Linked DNA regions of Homo sapiens: all the other regions are linked to region 3. The links are contacts of gene promoters, found by promoter capture Hi-C in blood cells and fetal thymus (Javierre and others, 2016). All regions are on one chromosome and are shown on one strand. Each heading gives the region's core, a stretch centred on a gene start or on the middle of the fragment in contact. The rest is flanking DNA. Distances are from core to core; before and after follow the strand shown.

Region 1 (2,700 bases), core at 105-2,604, 1.8 Mb before region 3:
AAAACAGAAAAGGTGTGTGTGCGTAACTCCTATGTATGTTTTTACACCAGAGGAACGAAAACAGCAAGAAATGAATTAACTACTGTGAAGGAAAGACATACTTCCCATCTCTGTAGATCAAAAAAGGGAGTAAATCCCTAGGCCTAATTGAACTGAGTAATCTTACTGCACCTCTGGAAGAGCACACAGGAGCCCAGTTAGCGAGAGCAACAAAGCCCAGCATGTCGCCTGCCACTGAAAGAAAATTCTGTGGGAACAACAGCTTTAGGCCTCCTTGCCCAGACGCCAACTTCCCTTTAACCAGCCCAAGACTTTATTTTGACGCCTCTTTGCTCCTGGGTCTTGCTGTCCCCATAACCACCTCCCCCTCCTGCTCCTAAATTCGTCCAGGGTAACTTTTCTCCACTTCAGCAGCTCCCCAGCCACGACTCCCATGAGGGAGAGTCAGATCCACACTCATAGCTGGGGTCTCAAAACCAAGCGAAAAAAGGAAAGTCTGTATGTACGTGCCTACTTTTTGAAAGAAAATAGCTGGTTTCGGGGAGTTTAGCCTGGTTAATAAGAGAAGTTTTTGAGATTAAAGAGCAGCCGAGGCGCGGGGGCTCCCGAATGCCGCGGTGCGCACAGGCGGGCTCTGAGATTTCCTCAGGAAATCCACCTTCTCTAAGCCAGCCCTGCCCCAGCGCAAGCCCCGCAGCTTTGCTGGGCTGAGGGCAGTAATGACAGTGGCACAGAGGGCCTCTGCCTACCTCCTCTGCACCCATCGGCACGGCGTCTGGCTCTTCCGGTGCTGCCCGGGCAGCGACGCGGGACGGCGCGCCCCGGACCGCGGGTCACCAAGTTCCCGGCCGCAAACCAGCCGCCGGTCCCCCCGGCCGCGCAGCCCCCACTGCTGGCCGGCTGGCCGCGCCACGCCAGCGCGGGGCTCCCAGCGGCGCGGCTCGCGGCCGGGTGACAGCGGGCCGGCGCAGAGAAGCGCGGGGAGCCGCCGAAGCCGGCCCGGGCTCCGGCCAGCGTCACTCCTGGGCGGTGCGCGCTGGTCCCGCGCCCCTGACAGCCGGCCGAGCGCGTCGATGGCACAATGCCGGCCCCGCCGCCCCCGGGCCGCGGTGACAACTCACCCGGGAGCCGGCGGAGACCTCCGGGATGGGGGCGCTCACAGCTTCCACGCCGCCGCTTGCGCGCGCCCGCAGTCTTCTCGGGTCTAGGCGAGGCCCCGCGTGCCCTTGTCTAGCTCGCTCTGGCCGGCGCTGTGGGCAGAGGAAGCGGGCGGGAGGGAGGGAGGAGGTGGGGCGGTCGCCGGCTTCGGAGAATAGAACGCGGCGGTAGCGACGGCTGCAGCGCCCGCGTCACTGACCCAGCTGTACCGCGCGGGCGGGGGAGGCCCCGCGGAGGGGAGGGGGCGGGGAAGGGGCGGGAAAGGGGCAGGGCCAGGCGCGCACGCAACGGCGCCGGCGTCGCGCCGCCGCGACCGCCCCGCCGGGAGGCCCTGCACGCACGCGCCGCCGGCCGGGCCAGGTACCCAAGGGAGAAGCGACGCGGTTGGGGAGGTGGGGGGTCCTTAAAGAGACAGTCCCTCTGCGCTGGAGTGGATGGGGCGGTGGCACCGACTCAGCTGGACTATGCGGCGTTTCCAGTGCGCTCTCCAGTTCGTTTACTATTATTATTATTTGCATGATTGAATTACTATTATTTGCAAAGAATTGTACTGCCCTGAGGTTTACAAGGCTTTTGGCGCATGTTGCCTTGTTAGCTCTTGAATTGCTCGTCTGACCTAGCTCGTCTGAAGCAGGTTATTATCTCCCTGTTAAGCAGTAATCCGAACTGTGGTTCCTAGCCTGCCAACATTAAAGCTGCCCGGGGGGTGGGTGGGGGTGAAAATGCAGATTCGGGGCCCCGAATGACCTCCAGCCATTGTGATTCAGTGGGGTCGGACTTGGGAATCTGTATTTTCACTAGCATTCTGAAGTGAGTGATCCTTCAGCATACTAAAAGCACACAAGGGATCTCAAGGTTGAGAAAACCGCAGTTCAGAGCCAGGACTGGCAGAGCCCGGGCTAGAAGCCTGCCACATTCCTAACTGTATTTCCCCTCTTGAGCCTTGCCTTCTGGGGCTATTTTCTAGCACATACTGAGTGAGCAGTTTGTGCACTGTATGGCTACATCGTTTATTGGTGATCTCTCATGCAGTGTGTCCTCGGTTTATGTGTTTACAGGGCCCGTGGCGCCTTGATGGGGAGGACTCTGGCTTTTTATCTTTGTACCCCAGGGCCTTGCACCGTGTCGGTCTCAGAGGTCCTCCATAAGTGTTAAGGAACTCCTACTTGTAAATCAGTGGTAGAGTCCACATCTGGACCTACAGACTTGTGTCTTTGCTGCAGCTTGGGTCAGGCAGGCCTCTTCTCCCAGATGCTCTTGGACAAAAGGATACACCTTCTCAGGGCCTCTCACCAGGCCTAGTTCTAGTAGGCTTTCGGGAAAAGCACTGTGAATTAACAGGGCATGTCCTTGTGAAGTAGCTTGAACCAAATAAACAGGATGCTCCTCCCCATGCACACAGACCCATCCCCAAAAGAACCCTTCCCTTCTGGGCCCCACAGCAACCTGTGGCTCGTTGCTATAATGCCTTTTTCATAAGTCTATCCTTGTTCTGCCTTCTTTCTTCCTTGCCTTCTTGGGTCCAGACTCATTAGAGAAGAT
Region 2 (2,732 bases), core at 207-2,706, 1.4 Mb before region 3:
AGAAATGCTCTCACATGGGCTCTCACAGAGGTGTGTGGGAAGGATGTTCTCCGCCATACTGTGTCTAACAATGAAAAACTGGAAACAATCTATGGAATCTTACATAACCATGGAATTTACAGAGCAAGTAGAAAGAATAGGTAGATCTCTAGGTACTGACAAAGAAAAAATTCCAAGACCCGTTTTTAAGCATAAAACGTCAAGTTGTGTAATGCATAAAACATGCATATTTGTAAAAGTTTAAAGCGAAATCTTACAAACATATATCTTATACGTACACATACTTGTCAAATAAATGCAAAGAAAAATACACACAAACTGACAACAGTTCTTATTTTGTGGGAAAGGGACTGGTAAAGAAGGTGGAGATGGAAAAAAACAAAATCAAAGAGGATCTGTCTTCCACACTCCCCACCCTCACCACCAAGAACATCAAGCTAAGAAAGATCTGTGTTTAAAATTTTTACATAATTTTGTTACAAGGCTTTATGCACGGACTATAACTAGAATATTTTAAAAATACATTTTTAAAACAAGCTCAACTTGACCAAATTTAATCCATCTTCCCCGCTGCGCCCCAACCCGCACTTCCTAATTCCTATGATTAACAAAACCTTTCAATTCCTTCTATCCTTGGAACAGAACTAAGAAAATAAAGTATAATTTCAATTTTGTGTTTTTGAGGAGAGGGTATATAAAGGAGTTTGAATGTTGGAATCATATCAAAAGCTTATCGGGGGATTGGTTTGTTTGTATTTTAAGGAGCAGATGTCAATTTTGTAATAAATAATGATTAAGGTTCTTAGTTTTGATCCATCCCAGGGATGTGAAAAGCCAAAGAGGTGGCTCCCGGCAAGGCCCAGAGCAGGGTGTGGTCTGGGAGGACAGGGATGGTAGCGAGGGTGGCGGCTCACACGAATCCAGGAGAGAAAACAGCAGCTGTTGCCGCGTCGAACCCGCAGCGCCCGAGGAGCTACCAGGTGCCGCGGGCGGGGCCTCCTTTTTAGCTGACTGGGACACGCAGCCTCGAAGGTCTGGTAGAGTCTCCCAGGGAGAGGGTAAGGGGGTCGAAAGGAGAGGCCCAAGGAGGGCGTGGGAGGCCGCGGGCAGGGGTGAGGCCCTCCTTGCGCACCTGGGTGCTGAACCGCCCCGCCGTGTGCGACGGGGGCGAGGGGGTCACGCCGAGGGGCGGGGAGAGGGGCAGGGCCAACTCGCTCCGGGACAGCGGGGGCCCCGCAATGTCACCCCCGTACACGGTAATATCCCCCCGCTCCACGACCCCTCTTAGTCTGCACTGGAAGCACCCCCTGCCCCGCGCACAATCCTGGTGCAAGGCTTCGCCGGCTTCTGAGCCTCACTTACCTGCTGTCTCGGACTGGGCCGCACACCTGCAGCGGGCTCACGTTAAAGACCTGGAACCTGTGCGGCCGCCTGCGCGCACCCACCCGGATTCACTAGGGCCGTAACCACTTCCGTTCCTGCGACAGGCCTGGAGGACGTAATCCCAGCTGGCGTGTGGGAACGGGCAACGCCATTTTGTACGGAAGCTACTGGGGCAGGTGATGCCTACCCAGTCTCTCTCCTCTGTTGAACAAAGGATCTGTTAAAATTGGAAGGGCTTAACGTCTTCTTCAGAAAAGTGACGCATTTGTTACTGGGATGGTATGTTTGTGTTTTGGTTTTGGCTTTGAAGGGAGAAACCTCCAGAACTCTCACAAATGTAATATGGGACATCGAATTTTCCTTCTTTAGTATCCTGCGTACTGTTTTTCTGCTAAACGATAACAGTAAATAGAAGGAAAGACACTGTATTTAAATAATGTAGTCTTCATTAGCAGTGCACATTATCCTATAGCCACTATAATAATTTTATGTACCCTCCTTTTTTTTTTTTTTTTTTTTTTTTGTAGATACTGTCTCCCTACATTGCCTAGGCTGGTCTCGAACTCCTGGGCTCAAGCGAACCTCACAACTCGGCCTCCCAAAGTGCTGGGATTACAGGCGTGAATGCCCAACCTATGCCATCTTTTATAGCGATAACCACAATACTTTTTGTTTATATATTAAATCGTTCATCCAATCAGTCTTTATTAGCAATTATATGTGAGGCAGTTAATCTGTGCTACATGCATGCTTTTCCTTTCTCATGGAATGTGTAAAACAGAAGGAGAAATGAGATGTGCATAAATAACCAATATAAGGTATAATAATAGCTACCATTTGTTGACTTTGTGCTCACCTGTTGCTAGGAACTTTGCAAAGCATTTTACTTATTTTTTCTCCTTTAATCCCCATAACAACCCTGTGAGGCAGTACTATTATTAGTGCCGTTTTACATAAAATAGAAAAAGGTTAAATAACTTCCTCAAGGTAATTCAGCAAGTAAGCACCGGAGTTAGGAATCAAACCTCATATTTCTGATTGCAGAGCATGTGGCCCCATCCTTTATACTATATTGCCTTCAATACAGGGGCAAATGTTTTAAATTCCATTGAATGAGTACCCATGGGGGAAATTTCCAGCTATTATAGAGGATTAACTCCCTGAATTTTTATCTGCTCCATCTTGAAACACTTAAAAAACAAAGGATAAAGAGGAAATGCAAATTAAAACCACAATGAGATATAGCTAAATGAAAAAGAAAATGTCAAGTATTGGCAAGATTGTGGAGCAACCACAACTCTCATATGCTCCTGAAGGGAACATAAATTGATGCAATCACTTTGTTTAAC
Region 3 (2,885 bases), core at 253-2,752:
TTGTACTGGAGAAATGGTTGGCCCGGGAAAAGGTAAGTAGGTTTATATTAAATTTTCCTCCGAGGCCAGGACTGAGAAGAACTTGAAAGTAGTTGTGGGATTTCCCTTCTGTCTGTTACTTCCTTTATCATTAAATTCATCATACTCATTCTCAAAGAATGGCTTAAATTTTTATTGCTGTCTCCTTACCTAAATTCATTCATTAATGCACTAATATACATTGGCATATATTACTGTTTGTTAAATACCACCATGAGTCTTGTGCCTAAAGAGAACTTTTGGAAACTCAGTGAAGGTAACAAAATAGCAAATAAAATATGAATCTGTAACATTTGGATCTATTCAACATTTAAGTAATAGAGAATGGGCTGAGCTGAAACTTGGTTTTTCTTCCAAAAATCATATTTTAACTAGCCTAATTCCATGACATCTCATAGATTCAAATTCCATTAATTCATAGTTTAATAATTCACATGAATTGAACAGAAAATTACCAGATATAAAAACAAGTAAGCAAATTAATATTGAAAAAAAAAACCTGGTAAGGAATTACCTTTTTTAAAGATAAACTTCCATTAAAAGTCCTTTTAGAAGTATGTTAATTATCAGAAATTTATATCTTATAAAAGAATTACTCTGAGACATTTTCATATTGAACTTCAGACTTTGAGATTTAAGTGAAGAACCTCTAACTTAGAAATGACTGGCCCAAGGACACACCGTAAAGTTATTTGACAGAGCTGGTGCTGAAACCAAGATCTTCTGACCTCAATCCTCTGCTTTTTCCACCTTAACACTACTTTTTTAGCCCAGATGGACTTTAAGAAACCACAAATTCTACTTTTAAAATGTCTGTAATTTCGCCAGTTTTTTAAATTTTTGCTCCTCTCGGTCACCAGAATTAATTTTGTCTTTGGTTCCACTTTTGCATGATATTTATCGTTCCTCACAGAGCTGTCAAAAAGTAACAGAAATTGCTAATCTGAATGTATCTCTTATCCAGGATTTAGCCAGTTGTTTAGGAAAGAAAAATGACAGAAAGACTAGTAGGAGCGAGAAGAAAGAAAAACAAGATTGAAACATAATGAAACCCAGCATCATTAAGAGTTGGCTATGGTTTCAGATTTAAAAGAGAAAACTTGAACTAAAATAGTAACCTATAGTTACTATAGTATCTTCAAAGAGAAAAAGAACTATTGTTACTGATTAAGGGATCTCTCTAGTACAAACATGGAATTTGTCAAATCAAATTAACTTTCCCCTCAGTAGAGACTATTTGCTTACTTTATATCTGAATGGTTGCTTATTTTCTAGACAGTTGCTCAACTATGTCAGGAGATGGATTCCACTTCCCGTTCTTGTTTTTCCCAGGTTCACAAATAGATTATTTGGTCTTTAAAGCTTCAATGACTTGCTTATTTAAACAGTTGTGGGACTATTTTAGTTCCTCATAGAATTTTAAAACTATATAAGCACCATGGCGTCCAGTGAATTCTTGGGGTAGTTTTCCAAGTCCAGTCATTATCCTGAAGGTGCCTTCATCATCTAGGAATTTACTGGCTGCCTGTCCTTTTCCAGGTTCCCACCTTTTGCCAAAAGCTTCCCTTTTAATTATTAGATGAAATAGTGATTCTATTTTCCCTTTCCTCCATTCATTTTTGCCTTCTGCCTTTTAATCTTGCAGAGATGTATCTCTCCATGTGTAAGCAATTATACAAAGATTTAGCTGCAGAAATGTTCACGTCTATGCTACTTCTATTAGAAGAAAACTGAAACAACTCCCATGTCCATAGTATAGGACAGGTTAATAAATGGAAATATATCTATATGTAAAATACTATACCACTATTCAAAAGTATTTGGCAAATGAGTTTTCACTAACATAGAGTGTTCATGGTCTGCTGTATGGGAAAAAAGGCAGTTTAGAAAAAAGTACATTTGGTATACATGCATAGAGATGTGCATAGCAAATGGTCTGAATGAATGGCCTTAGACCACAGTTTTCATAATTGTTCTCCTTCAGTGAGAATATATATAAAATATATATTTCATATATAATATGTTATATGTAATATATTTCATATGTGATATATATTTCATATATAATACATGTTATATATCATATATTTTATATTTGTTATATATCATAAATTTCATATATGTTATATATTATATATTTCATATGTAACTAAATACACCAATTAAATTTGTAAAATTACAAAATTAAATATACAAATAAGCAAACTAACATATGTTATATATATTATATTGCACTAAAATATAACATATATGTTACATATCTCTCTCTAGGATAAAACACTTTATCTTAGAGAAATAGCAGAAATAAGACTAACTGGACATACATATGTTTTATATATATATAACATATTTTAGTTTACTTATTTGTATATTCAATTTTTCTACATTGAACATGCCTTGCTCTTGTAACCGTAAAGTTATTTGACAGAACTGCTGCTGAAACCAAAATCTTCTGACCTCAATCCTCTGCTTTTTCTGCCTTAACACTACTTTTTTAGCCCAGATGGACTTAAAACTAAGAAACCACAAATTCTACTTTTAAGATGTCTATAATTTTGCCAGTTTTTTAAATTTTTGCTCCTCTCGGTCACCAGAATTAATTTTGTCTTTGGTTCCACTTTTGCATGACATCCTTGCTTAGAAATGCTGAGCAAATTCTTGCCTATTTTAGGAAGATAAATGTTAGTCAATTATGATCCTGAATATGTTTAAAGTAGTTTCAGCAGTAAAATAAGTATAATCTACTCAGTCTTTAGGATTCTAAATAAAATCTTAGCCAGGCTATTAAGGATCTGCTGTCCTAGACATCTTATCTATTCTTTTCTGTTAGTCTTCAATAGAAGCAC

Evidence for each region. Contacts are between HindIII fragments. The CHiCAGO score rates a contact against its expected background, and 5 or more counts as called.
Region 1: the fragment with the promoter of SUSD6 here is called in contact with a fragment that was not itself captured in region 3 in 1 of 17 cell types (fetal thymus); the score reaches 8.1 in fetal thymus.
Region 2: the fragment with the promoter of EXD2 here is called in contact with a fragment that was not itself captured in region 3 in 2 of 17 cell types (naive CD8 T cells and total CD4 T cells); the score reaches 6.4 in naive CD8 T cells.

What each region holds. Positions count from the first base shown.
Region 1 is chr14:69,610,250-69,612,949 of GRCh38, reverse strand. It overlaps SUSD6 (sushi domain containing 6), which reads right to left and starts at 1,354. Exons shown (of 6, transcript NM_014734.4): 1 at 1,122-1,354. RefSeq lists a silencer at 836-1,605. The HindIII fragment of the contact is 10,737 bases long and covers 1-2,700 here.
Region 2 is chr14:69,190,222-69,192,953 of GRCh38, reverse strand. EXD2 (exonuclease 3'-5' domain containing 2) reads right to left here and starts at 1,456. Exons shown (of 10, transcript NM_001193360.2): 1 at 1,363-1,456. The region is part of intron 3 of GALNT16-AS1 (GALNT16 and EXD2 antisense RNA 1); the gene reads left to right. RefSeq lists a silencer at 1,046-1,235. The HindIII fragment of the contact is 2,229 bases long and covers 732-2,732 here.
Region 3 is chr14:67,811,133-67,814,017 of GRCh38, reverse strand. ZFYVE26 (zinc finger FYVE-type containing 26) reads left to right here. Exons shown (of 42, transcript NM_015346.4): 3 at 1-32. Among named protein-coding and RNA genes, the nearest start is that of ZFYVE26, 4.0 kb to the left of the region's middle. The HindIII fragment of the contact is 198 bases long and covers 1,404-1,601 here.